Linked DNA regions of Homo sapiens: all the other regions are linked to region 2. Evidence: promoter capture Hi-C in human tissues and cell types (Jung and others, 2019). All regions are on one chromosome and are shown on one strand. The core of a region is centred on a gene start or on the middle of the fragment in contact, and the rest is flanking DNA. Distances in the headings are between cores, read along the strand shown.

Region 1 (3,933 bases), core at 1,192-3,691, 210 kb before region 2:
TTGCTGTCACTGGTGATCGGTGCCCAGCATCTGCCACTGAAGGCTCGGCCTGCATCAAAAACTCTTTCTTGCAAGATGTTGACAAGTGCCCGGACCAGCTGAGGACACTGTCCATATTGCTCTCCTTGGACTGGTTTGTGAAACTCTCTTCCTATCCCCTCTACTCTTTTTTTTTTTTTTCTGAAACAGAGTTTCTCTCTGTCACCCAGGCTGAAGTGCAGTGGTGAAATCTTGGCTCACTGCAACCTCTGCCTCCCAGATTCAAGTGATTCTCATGCCTCGGCCTCCCAAGTAGCTGGGACTACAGACTTGGACCGCCACATCCGGCTAATTTTTGTATTTTTAGTAGAGATAGGGTTTCACCATATTGGCCAGGCTGGTCTCAAACTCCGGGCCTCAAGTGATCTACCCACCTCAGCCTCGCATAGTGTTGGGATTACAGGCGTGAGCCATCGTGCCTGGCCTCCCCTTTACTCTTGATGTTAAATGTTGTTTTGTTTGATGTGGAATGTTTAATCTGCAATATTTATATATTGATTAAGTATACTCTAATGTATGGTTTGCAGTATTGACTGACCTGTGGAGGGGTTTCAGCCTGTGTGCCCAAGGCTCTGACTACTGAGTAAATGGGATGTACTAAGGAGAATTGCCTCTGTGGGAACTTCATGTAGTTCATGGCTTTTATAACTGAAATAGCATCAATAAAAGTCCAGCCTTGTGGAAAGACACCAACTTGCATGGATCTGGTTATGTCTGACCTTGTGCTACTCATGACAGATGTGGACAGGATCACATGCTGTAGGGCCTCAGCCACACAGGCTGGTTTCTAAAACAGGCAGCGATTTAGAACACTGAATCTCTGAGGTCGCAGATTCAAATTTTTTTTTTTTTTTTTGAGACGGATTTTCACTCTTGTTGCTCAGGCTGGAGTGCAATGGTGCAGTCTTGGCTCACCACAACCTCCGCCTCCTGGGTTCAAGCAATTCTTCTGCCTCAGCCTCCCGAGTAGCTGGTATTACAGGCATGTGCCACCACGCCCGGCTAATTTTGTTTTTTTTCATTTGTTTGTTTTTGTTTTTGTTTTTTTTTGAGACAGAGTCTCACTCTGTCACCCAGGCTGGAGTTGCAGTGGTGCGATCTCAGCTCACTGCAAGCTCTGCCTCCCGGGTTCATACCATTCTCCTGCCTCGGCCTCCTGAGTAGCTGGGACTACAGGCACCGGCCACCACACCCGGCTAATTTTTTTTTTTTTTTGTATTTTTAGTAGAGACGGGGTTTCACCGTGTTAGCCAGGATGGTCTCGATCTCCTGACCTCGTGATCCACCCGCCTTGGCCCCCGCAAAGTGCTGGGATTACAGGCGTGAGCCAATTTTTGTATTTTTAGTAGAGACGGGATTTCTCCATGTTGGTCAGGCTGGTCTCAAACTCCTGACCTCAGGTGATCGGTCTGCCTCGGCCTCCCAAAGTGCTGGGATTACAGGCGTGAGCCACTGTGCCAGGCCCACAGATTCAATTTTACAGAGTTGGAGGAAAGGCATTTACAGATTCTGCATAGGGCCAGAATGTGTCTTAGCAACTAAATCATGGATGTACGTGTTTGCAGTTGGATCAAATGCCCCAAACAATTCAATATGTTAAATGTTTACATCAGAACACTTGTATCAGAATCTTTCTGTTTCTGCACTTAGCTCTGTAGTTTCTTTGGACCTTTGTGCCTGGTTTGTCATAGGCTAGGAGCCTCCCATAGGTTCCAGCAACAGCACACAAGTGAAGGAATGGGACAGGTGTAAAAAAAACCCACAAATAGAATGAGGACAATGCTGATGATGACATCTGCAGAGGGAAGACGACAGACCATTTCCGCAACACTGAACCCAGAGTGAAGAACGTTGCTGGAGGAAATAGCAGAGGAAACCACAACTCAGAGGAAGCCACAGCTAGACAAGCAGCTACTGGTGGGATGGGATGATGGAGGGTGGAGCCATGGAAGAAACTACTGTGCTCTGTAGAGTCTGGGATGGGGCCAGGGCTCCACAGTTAGAGGCAGGAGAGTCCAGTAGGGCTGAAAATCAATCAGGATTGAAGACCTGTGTGTAGAACAGTCAACACCCCCATCCCCACCCCACCCCATGCACAGAACTGTGAGGACATCCAGCCAGGTAATGACTCCAGGCAAAGAATCATGTGCACAGTCTGGAGGGACTTGAGCAGCTGGTGTGCATGACCAGAGTAAAGGCCTCCCCACAAAGGGTGATCTAAAGGCAGCAGTCCCTGTTCATGTCCCAGAGTTTCTGTCAGCTTTTATAGTCCCTCATTCTCAAATATAAAAGCTTAACAGAGGCTCGCTGCAGAATTAGAGAAAACCTGTGGTATGAAAGAAAGCAATGAGGATTCCAAAAGAGAGAGAAAGACAAAGATAGAAGTTTAACCTCAAAGAACACAGAGAGAATTCAGAGAACATAAGAACATAAAACAGGCCTGGCACGGTGGCTCAGGCCTGTCATCCCAGTACTTTGGGAGGACGAGGCGGGCAGATCACGAGTTCAGGAGATTGAGACCAGCCTGGCCAACGTGGTGAAATCCTGTCTTTACTAAAAATACAAAAATTAGCTGGGCATGGTGGCAGACGCCTGTAATCCCAGCTACTCAGGAGGCTGAGGCAGGAGAATCGCTTGAACCCATGAGGTGGAGGTTGCACTGAGACGCCGTCTCACAAAGAAAAAAGAACATAAAACAAAGAACATGAAAGAACAGAACTTCTTTGATCAGCATCCCCAGAGAGATTTTAGAAAATATTCCATCCATAAAACAATAAAACAAGAACATGACACAGTGAAAAATAAGCCCTGTGAGAAGAACCACAGTAAAAGCCTCTGGAAATTAAAATTATGGTTCACAAAATGTAAAATAATAAATATGGGTGGACAATAATGTTTAGGAGGTCACAGAGAATAAAGAGAACAGGAAACAGAAAATAGGCCAGAAACAATAAGAGATATAGATGATTAATACAGAGGTACAACACCTACCCAGTAGGAATTCCAGAAAGAGGAAAAGAAGGAAAGAAGAGGCTGGGCGTGGTGGCTCACGCCTGTAATCCCAACACTTTGGGAGGCGGAGGACGGCAGATCACGAGGTCAGGAGTTCACAACCAGCCTGGCCAACATGGTGAAACCCCGTCTCTACTGAAAATACAAAAATTATTTCTGCGCTACCCACAGAGGGGTCCATACGGCGTTCTGGATTCCCATCGTAACTTCAAGGAAAACTTTCACAATGTGCGGAGCCCTTGATGTCCTGCAAATGAAGAAGAAGGATGTCCTTAAGTTCCTTGCAGCAGGAACCCACTTAGGTGGCACCAATCTTGACTTCCAGATGAAACAGTACATCTATAAAAGGAAAAGTTATGGCACCTACATCACAAATCTGAAGAGGACCTGGGAGAAGCTTCTGCTGGCAGCTCATGCCATTGTTGCCATTGAATACCCTGCTGATGTCAGTGTCATATTCTCCAGGAATACTGGCCAGAGGGCCGTGCTGAAGTTTGCTGCTGCCACTGGAGCCACTCCAATTGCTGGCCGCTTCACTCCTGCAACCTTCACTAACCAGATCCAGGCAACCTTCCGGGAGCCACGGCTTCTTGTGGTTACCGACCCCAGGGCTGACCACCAGCCTCTCACGGAGGCATCTTATGTTAACCTACCTACCATCGCTCTGTGTAACACAGATTCTCCTCTGCACTGTGTGGACATTGCCATCCCATGCAACAACAAGGGAGCTCCCTCAGTGGGTCAGATATGGTGGATGCCAGCTCGGGAAGTTCTGCACATGCGTGGCACCATTTCCTGTGAACACCCGTGGGAGGTCATGCCTGATCTCTACTTCTACAGAGATCCTGAAGAGATTGAAAAAGAAGAGCAGGCTGCTGCTGA
Region 2 (3,664 bases), core at 906-3,405:
AGCTCCAGGCAGGCACAGGAGCAGGACTCAGGGGTCGGTGAACGTGACGGGAGTCCAAAGTCAGTGGGGGATCCATCTTGTCTTAGGAGAGCAAAGACCTTCTCTCTGTCCTCCCCAGTTCCATAGCTGGCTCTATGAAATTAACTGCCAACGGGCAGATGAACGGGGGGAACGGGAATACACATTTATTAATCTTTAATATCACCTGCATGGGGGCATTGCAGGAAACTAGGTGAAAACCCCCCAAACCAGTGAGCTTTGAGAGCTTCTAAAATTGGGGAACTGGAAGCTGGTGTAGGCCACTTAGGGGAGAGTAACTGATTTTTAGGAAAGATGCATAAGTCTTTATGAGTTTGTGACAAAGTTTGTCTAGGTGTGGTGTGGACTTCTGCTGTGATAAGAGTCCATCCTCCCGGGAGGGAATTTACGACAATCAGTTTCTTTTGGAGGTTCCGTCTTTAGACAGGTAAGGGGAGAACGTCTCTCTGCATTTGCTATTTTTCAAGTGCCTCTCGCTCAAAATAATCAATATACCAAAGCGGCATATTTTAGGATGGCATATTTTGGTTTCATTCACTGTCTTTAAGTTTTTGATATTTTGTTCATTATAAACTTTTTTTGCATTCATTTTGACTTTTTAAGATATTGTATTAAAACATTATTTACCTTGACTACTGAGTTTTTTTGTCGCGCCCTTAAATTTTGCCCCTATGCGAGTGCCTCGCTCGCTTGCCTCCTTCTAGCCCGGGTCTGGCAGGGAGTTGAAATTATTTTTCTCACTGCTGAATTCCCAGGGCCTACAACAGTGCTCGCCAAAAAATTAATACTCTTGGTTCTTCAAATAAAACATTCTGTAAGGACTGCTCCCAATTTCTTCCTGAACTTCACGAACCCTCCCAGCCAGGCCACAGGATGTCAGGGGCAAACACCCTGAACCAACGGAGCTCAGGTTCCCTACCACCCCGCCCAAGCCCGCTCCAAGCCCAATTACCCTTCCCCTTCCTCGTCGTCCCATCCTCCCTGATGCCTCTTCCAGGGTGCTGGGCCGCGCGGCAAGAGCTCCAAGGCAAGATTCAAATGCCCTGGGGAGACGGCTGCGGGACACCTGCGGCGGGGCCCGGCAGGGAGCGCGAGACTGGAAGAGAGGCCAGGAGGGAAGGAGAGCGACGCGGGGTTTTGGGGGAGGGGCTGCGTGGGGCGCTGAAGGGGAGCGCGAGGAGTGGGAGGAAGTGAAGGAGGAGGAAGAGCACGGTGTGGGGGAAGCGCAGGAGGCAATAGGTGGGGCGGGACGGAGGGCAGGGCGCTGCGTCGGGAGAAAGTGTAGAAGCGCTGGGGAGAGTGCCCACGACGGGAGAGCCCAGGGGCGCGAGGGCGCGGGAGTGTGGGCGGGGCGCAGTGGGGATGGGGGCGGGGGCGCGGGATGTGGTAGGGGGCGTAGTGGGGAGAGAGTGCAGGAGTGTGGGCAGGGCGCAGTGTGGGGAGGGTGCGGGAGTGTGAGCGGGGCGCAGTGGAGGGAGTGCAGGATGTGGGCTGGACAACCAGTGGGAGAGGGCGCGGGAGGTGGGCGGGGCGCAGTCGGGATGGGGGCGGGGGCGCGGGATGTCGGCGGGCCGCAGTGAGGGGGAGGGCGCGGGAGTGTGGGCGGGGCGCAGTGGGGGAGGGAGCGGGAGTGTGCGCGGGGCGCAGTGAGGGGAAACTGTGGAATGTGGGCGAGGCGCAGTTGGAGAAGAGTGCGGGGATGTGGGCGGGGCGCAGTGAGGGGAAACTGTGGAATGTGGGCGAGGCGCAGTTGGAGGAGAGTGCGGGGATGTGGGCGGGGTGCGGTGGGGGAGGGTGCGGAGATGTGGGCGGGGCGCAGTGGGTGGAGAGTGTAGGGATGTGGGCCCAGCGCAGTGGGGGACAGTGTGGGGATGCGGGCGAGGCGCAGTGGGGGCGGGGGCGGGGATGTGGGCGGGGCGCAGTGGGTGGAGAGTGCGGGATGTGGGCGGGGCGCAGTGGGTGGAGAGTGCGGAATGTGGGCGGGGCGCAGTTGGGGAGCTTGCGGGGAATGTGGGCGGGGCGCAGTGGTGGGAGGGCGCAGGAGTGTGGGCGGGGCGCAGTTGGGGGAGGGTGCAGAGACCTGAGGGCTTGAGGTTGCCTGGCTGGCCCCGCTCCCAGAGGCGGGTGCCGCGCTGTCGCCCAGGTATCTGGGGTCTCTGGTGTCTGAGTGTCTCATTGTCGGCGCGAACACAATTGCTCCAGCCACAGGCGAGGCCTGGCCAAGGTGTGGGCGCATCTGGGGCAGGTCTTGAGAGGTCCAGCGCCCGGTGGTGCGGACAGAGGCGGGGCACCGCGGCGCTCGCCGCCGCCTCCCCGCAGGTGATCATCCTCCTGCAGGTGTCCTCGGGTCTCAGGTGGCTGCGTGTCTGCGCCATGGTTGACATTCTGGGCGAGCGGCACCTGGTGACCTGTAAGGGCGCGACGGTGGAGGCCGAGGCGGCGCTGCAGAACAAGGTGGTGGCACTGTACTTCGCGGCGGCCCGGTGCGCGCCGAGCCGCGACTTCACGCCGCTGCTCTGCGACTTCTATACGGCGCTGGTGGCCGAGGCGCGGCGGCCCGCGCCCTTCGAAGTGGTCTTCGTGTCAGCCGACGGCAGCTCCCAGGAGATGCTGGACTTCATGCGCGAGCTGCATGGCGCCTGGCTGGCGCTGCCCTTCCACGACCCCTACCGGCAGTGAGTGGGGGTCCTGGGGGGGCGGGGGCCGCCCGGCACGTCTCCCCCATGTTCCCCCAGGCCTCCCCCTCTGCACTGGGGAGCTCTTTATGACGCCCCCCCCCAACACCTCCCCGTCTCTCGGTTCACGTCCGGACTCCGGTAAATCACACTCAGTCTCAGTTTCAACCTCTCTTGGAGACCAGGGAGGGTGCAGACCAGATTCGAAAACCCAGGGCATCGGCACCCCAAGGGGGCTCGTGGAGCATGGACGCGGGCGCGTTTCTGCCTGGGGTCTGGAGCTCCGGGAATCTGCATTGCGAAGGAGCTCCCAGTGGTGGTGATGCTGTGAGTTCGCGGGCTCGGCTCCGGGAACCGCCGGCCCAATCAGCCCTGGACTCCCGGCGCCGCTGCGTCATCCTCCCAGTTAGTGGGCAGGAAGCACAGGGACATGACCCGGTGTCTGGATGCGGGGATGAGGGATGACCCGCGAGGACATCAGCTCTGTGACAGGCACCCACAGTGCAGGCCGTGGTTGGTTTGCTGGGAGGGAGGGACGGGGGCTTCAAGGCTGGCAGGAACCCAGGTGCTGGCCACCTTTGCGGTTTCATTTTTACCGACACTGATGGAATTTCATCACTAGAGAAGCATAAAACTCATTACTATAAACTTTATTACTCTAACTGTTGCAAAGGAGGGGGTAGGGATTGGCAGAGAGGGGATTACAGGGATTGATTGTTCTGCTTTTGGGGTGGGTCTCCTGTGGTCTCCTATGGTGTAAGAGTCCAGACTTAGGTTTAAAGCAGGCCTCGTCAAGTATGTTGTCCTGGCCACCCCCTTCTAGGTACCAATGTGAATTTCTGGGTTTTGCTTTACAGCCTCACATTTCTGGAGATTATCATTAAGTTGTGGCATTACCCCCTAAACTGATTATCATGAGATGACATTCCTTCTGGAAAATGAAAACTGGA
Region 3 (3,947 bases), core at 924-3,423, 130 kb before region 2:
TGTGCCACTGCACTACAGGCATGAGTCACCGTGCCTGGCTGTCTGAAGTTCTTGAATTTTTTTGACTTTTCTGCAGTCAAGTCCTCTTGGTGCTTATCAGAATTACAATGTTATATTAGTTTATGTGATTTAATTAATTTTAGTTTTCCCACAAAGGCTGAGTTTCATGAAAGCAGAACCATTCCTGTTTTTGCCTGTAATTACTTTTCTGGTATCTAGCTCAGTGTCTGAATTGTGAGGGCTCAAGCTACCCTGTGCAGTAGCGAGAATTAAATAATAAGAAAATTGAGGGTGTCTGGTTGGTTAAATGTCTTGTCTGCACAGGTGTTTGTCATACAGTGATTATTAAGTAACAATTTGTTGACTTTTATTTATTTATTTTGAGACAGAGTTTCGCTCTTGTTGCCCAGGCTGGAGTGCAATGGCGCGATGTTGGCTCATCGCAACCTCCGCCTCGTGGGATCAAGCAATTCTCCTGCCTCAGCCTCCTGAGTAGCTGGGATTACAGGCATGCACCACCACACCCAGCTAATTTTGTATTTTCAGTAGAAACGGGTTTCTCCATGTTGGTCAGGCTGGTCTTGAACTCCCCACCTCAGGTCATCCGCCTGCCTTGGCCTCCCTGGGATTACAGGCGTGAGCCACCGTGCCCGGCCTTGTTGACTTTTAATTGTAATATTTTTTTCAGGATCACATAAGGTTTAGAAAAATGAAACCCCTAGGATGGATAAAGGAAAACGTATATGGGATATGTGTGTGTATGTATTAAGGCATTTGTTACAGTGATTTGAGTTCACACAGTGTAGGAGGAGCTGGCTTAAGCAGTTTTTTTTTTTTTTGAGATGGAGTCTTGCTCTATTGCCCAGGCTGGAGTGCAGTGGCACAATCTTGGCTCACTGCAACCTCCGCCTCCTGGGTTCAAGCGATTCTCCTGCCTCAGCCTCCCGAGTAGCTGGGACTACAGGCGTGCGCCACCATGCCTGGCTAGTTTTTTTGTATTTTTAGTGGAGACGGGGTTTCACCATGTTGGCCAGGCTGGTCTTGAACTCCTGACCTCGTGATCCACCCGCCTCGGCCTCCCAAAGTGCTGGGATTACAGGCGTGAGCCACCGTGCCCAGCCGTTAAGCGGTTTCTGTCAGGCTGTTGTCTTTGTGATTGATGCTGGAGTTTGAAGTCCACAGGGCAGTCATTTGAGAAAGGAAGATGGATGTAAAGTGGGGAAGAAGAGGACACAGGAAGCCACAGGCAAGGTACATGGAAACCATGCTAGTTCTAGTTGCCTTTGTTCCTGCTTGTGTGGGTGGCCTGTAAGAGTTGGATCCTTGGCAAATGTAGCCCAGGAGGCAGAGAAGCTTAAGGAGAGCCCAGAGGAAGGTGGAGTGGATGCAGCTGCAATTCTAGGCCAACCACTGCCTCACACGAATGGGGTGAGTCAGAAGATGAGCAGCAACAGTGTGTGCAAGCTGCAGGGTGGTTGCTTTATCTTCTGCACCCTTCAGTTGCTGCACAAAAATCTCTTGTGAGCCATGCAAGTTGGAAACATAAAGGAAAGGAAATTCTGGGGAATGTAGTTCAGCTCAGCCAAGTTCAAACCATACAAAGCAGAATGATCAGCTCAGGCTTTTAAATTTTTAGCTCAGGCTACACGTAAGGGACCCGAAGGTTTCTGTGACTGCTCTAAAAATGCAAATGTAATTCCTAATTTGTGGGTGAGATCATTGATTGGTAGGAATGGAATCCTGAAAATTGGATTGGAGGCATATGGTCAGATTCTGTTTAAGCTGGAGTCCTTAAATCCTTAAATGCTGCTCTGCTGCCTTTCCCGGAGAAGCAGCCTTTCCAACCCTTCCCAGAGGAACTTAATCTCCGTTTGCCTGAAAAACCTGTAATTGGCCTCCCTTTGGGTAGTTGCCCAGCACGGTACTGTCTTCCTCAGAATCTGCCCTGTAATCCTTCTTTCTTGTAGATCTGTGGCTGGACTGTAGTTGCAGCAGGCCCCAGAGAGTGAGGTGACCCATGAGAAAGGTATGCTGCACTCTAAAAGATTGTATAGTTTTGCCACTGTATAGTCAGGAGCCTGGAGGAGTATTTGATTTGTGGCAATGGATCTTAGGGGTATAGTATAACAGTGGAAGGAACATAAAGTTGAATCAGGCAGAATTTATTGATGTGGGCTCACTAAGCAGAGATTCTGGGTTCAGTGTTATAGTTCAAGGAGATAGAAAGGACTCTTAACAGTTGGGTTAATTGACTGAGGCCCATCCACAAGGCCTGATGCCTCGGTTAGATTTTTTCTGGCCTAACAAGGAACTCCACTGACCATTCACTCACCTTCTATGAGAGTCTATATTTGGCCTGGCGTGATGGCTAATACCTGTAATCCCAGCACTTTGGGAGGCCAAGGCAGGAGGATCACCTGAGGTAAGGAGTTTGAGACCAGCCTGGCCAACATGGCGATACCTCATCTCTACTAAAAATACAAAAATTAAGCGGATATCATGGCCCATGCCTTAATCCCAGCTACTCGGCAGGCTGAGGCAGGAGAATCGCTTGAGCCCAGGAGGCAGAGGTTGCAGTGAGCCAAGATCATGCCACTGCACTCTAGCTGGGGTGACAGAGCGAGACTCCGCCTCAAAAAAAAAAAAAAAAAAATTAGCCGGGTGTGGTGGCTTGTGCCTGTAGTTTTAGTTACTCGGGAGGCTGAGGTGGGAGGATCAGTTGAGCTGGGGAAGTCGAGGCTGCGGTGAGCCATGATCGTGCAACTGCGCTCCAGCCTGGGCAACAGAGTGAGATTCTAATAAAATATTAGTTCATAAGGAAAGGTTCACCTAAATGCATAGCCCTTAAATAACTTGCATTGTTGGTGGAACTGTACTTTGCTAGGACCTTTTTGGAGGATGGCTGCACTAAAACAGAATTTAAAATGCATGTGCTCTGTTGATCCAGCAGTTTCACTGCTAGGATTTTATTGTATAGATGAATTTGGACAGTATACAAATACGTTATGTTTAAGGTTTTTCATTATATCAGTGTTTGTGATCGAGAAAAATTAGAAACAACTGTCCAATAATGGAGTTAAGGTAGAGTAAATGACCATTATACCCATACACTGGAATATTGTGCCACTGTTAATAATAAGAGGTTGATAGGAAAAAAAATTCATACAGCCATCCCTCCATATCAGGGAATTGGTTCCAGGACCCACACTCCGCCTGCCTCCCCGCCTGCACCCCACCCCATGGATACCAAAATCCATGGATGCTCAAGTTTCTTATATAAAATGGTGTAGTATTTGCATATAATCTATGCATATCTTTCTGTATACTTTAATCTCTAAATTACTCCTAGTATGTAATACAGTGTAAATGCTATACAAATAGTTATACTGTATTGTTGAGGGAATAACTACAAGGAAAAAACTTTATGTGTTTGGTACAGATGAAACCATCATTTCCCAAATGTTGAAAATCTGAGGTTAGTTGAATCCACAGATGTGGAGCTGAAGGGATAAGAGGCCAAGGGCCAACTATATTACACAAAAAATGTAACATTTAATAAGAGAAGCAAGTTGTGGAACTGTATGTTCTTGCTTATGTTGAGATGTTATGTGTCTGTTTTAAGCCTTTGCCTAAAAATACTTTGCTAAATTCCTAACAATCTTTTCCTTTTATTAATACATAATATTTTACATCTTTATGGGATGCATATGAATACTTGTTGCATGCATAGAATGTATAATGATCAAGTCAGGGTACCTGGAGCATCCATCACCTTGAGTATTTTATCTTTTTGTTTTTGAGATGGAGTCTCGCTCTGTTGCTCAGGCTGGAGTGCGGCGGTGCGATCTTGGCTTGCTGGAACCTCTTGCCTCCTGGGTTCAAGCAATTCTCCCGCCTCAGCCTCCTGAGTAAGCTGGGATTACAGGTGTGTGCCACCATGCTGGGCT

What was found. Contacts are between HindIII fragments. The study calls those that stand out against the background at their distance.
Region 1: a contact is called between a fragment that was not itself captured here and the fragment with the promoter of NXNL2 in region 2, in 1 of the 25 tissues and cell types used here (lymphoblastoid cells).
Region 3: a contact is called between a fragment that was not itself captured here and the fragment with the promoter of NXNL2 in region 2, in 5 of the 25 tissues and cell types used here (IMR-90 fibroblasts, lymphoblastoid cells, mesendoderm cells and 2 more).

What each region holds. Positions count from the first base shown.
Region 1 is chr9:88,321,177-88,325,109 of GRCh38, forward strand. It overlaps the pseudogene RPSAP49. Among named protein-coding and RNA genes, the nearest start is that of SPIN1, 65 kb to the right of the region's middle. The HindIII fragment of the contact is 4,785 bases long and covers 50-3,933 here.
Region 2 is chr9:88,533,023-88,536,686 of GRCh38, forward strand. It overlaps NXNL2 (nucleoredoxin like 2), which reads left to right and starts at 2,156. Exons shown (of 2, transcript NM_001161625.2): 1 at 2,156-2,714. The coding sequence starts at 2,413. LOC105376134 (a long non-coding RNA gene) reads right to left here and starts at 1,518. Exons shown (of 2, transcript XR_007061653.1): 1 at 992-1,518. RefSeq lists enhancers at 1,942-2,776, 2,777-3,610. The HindIII fragment of the contact is 10,556 bases long and covers 1-3,664 here.
Region 3 is chr9:88,398,211-88,402,157 of GRCh38, forward strand. The region is part of intron 1 of SPIN1 (spindlin 1); the gene reads left to right. Among named protein-coding and RNA genes, the nearest start is that of SPIN1, 12 kb to the left of the region's middle. The HindIII fragment of the contact is 9,312 bases long and covers 1-3,947 here.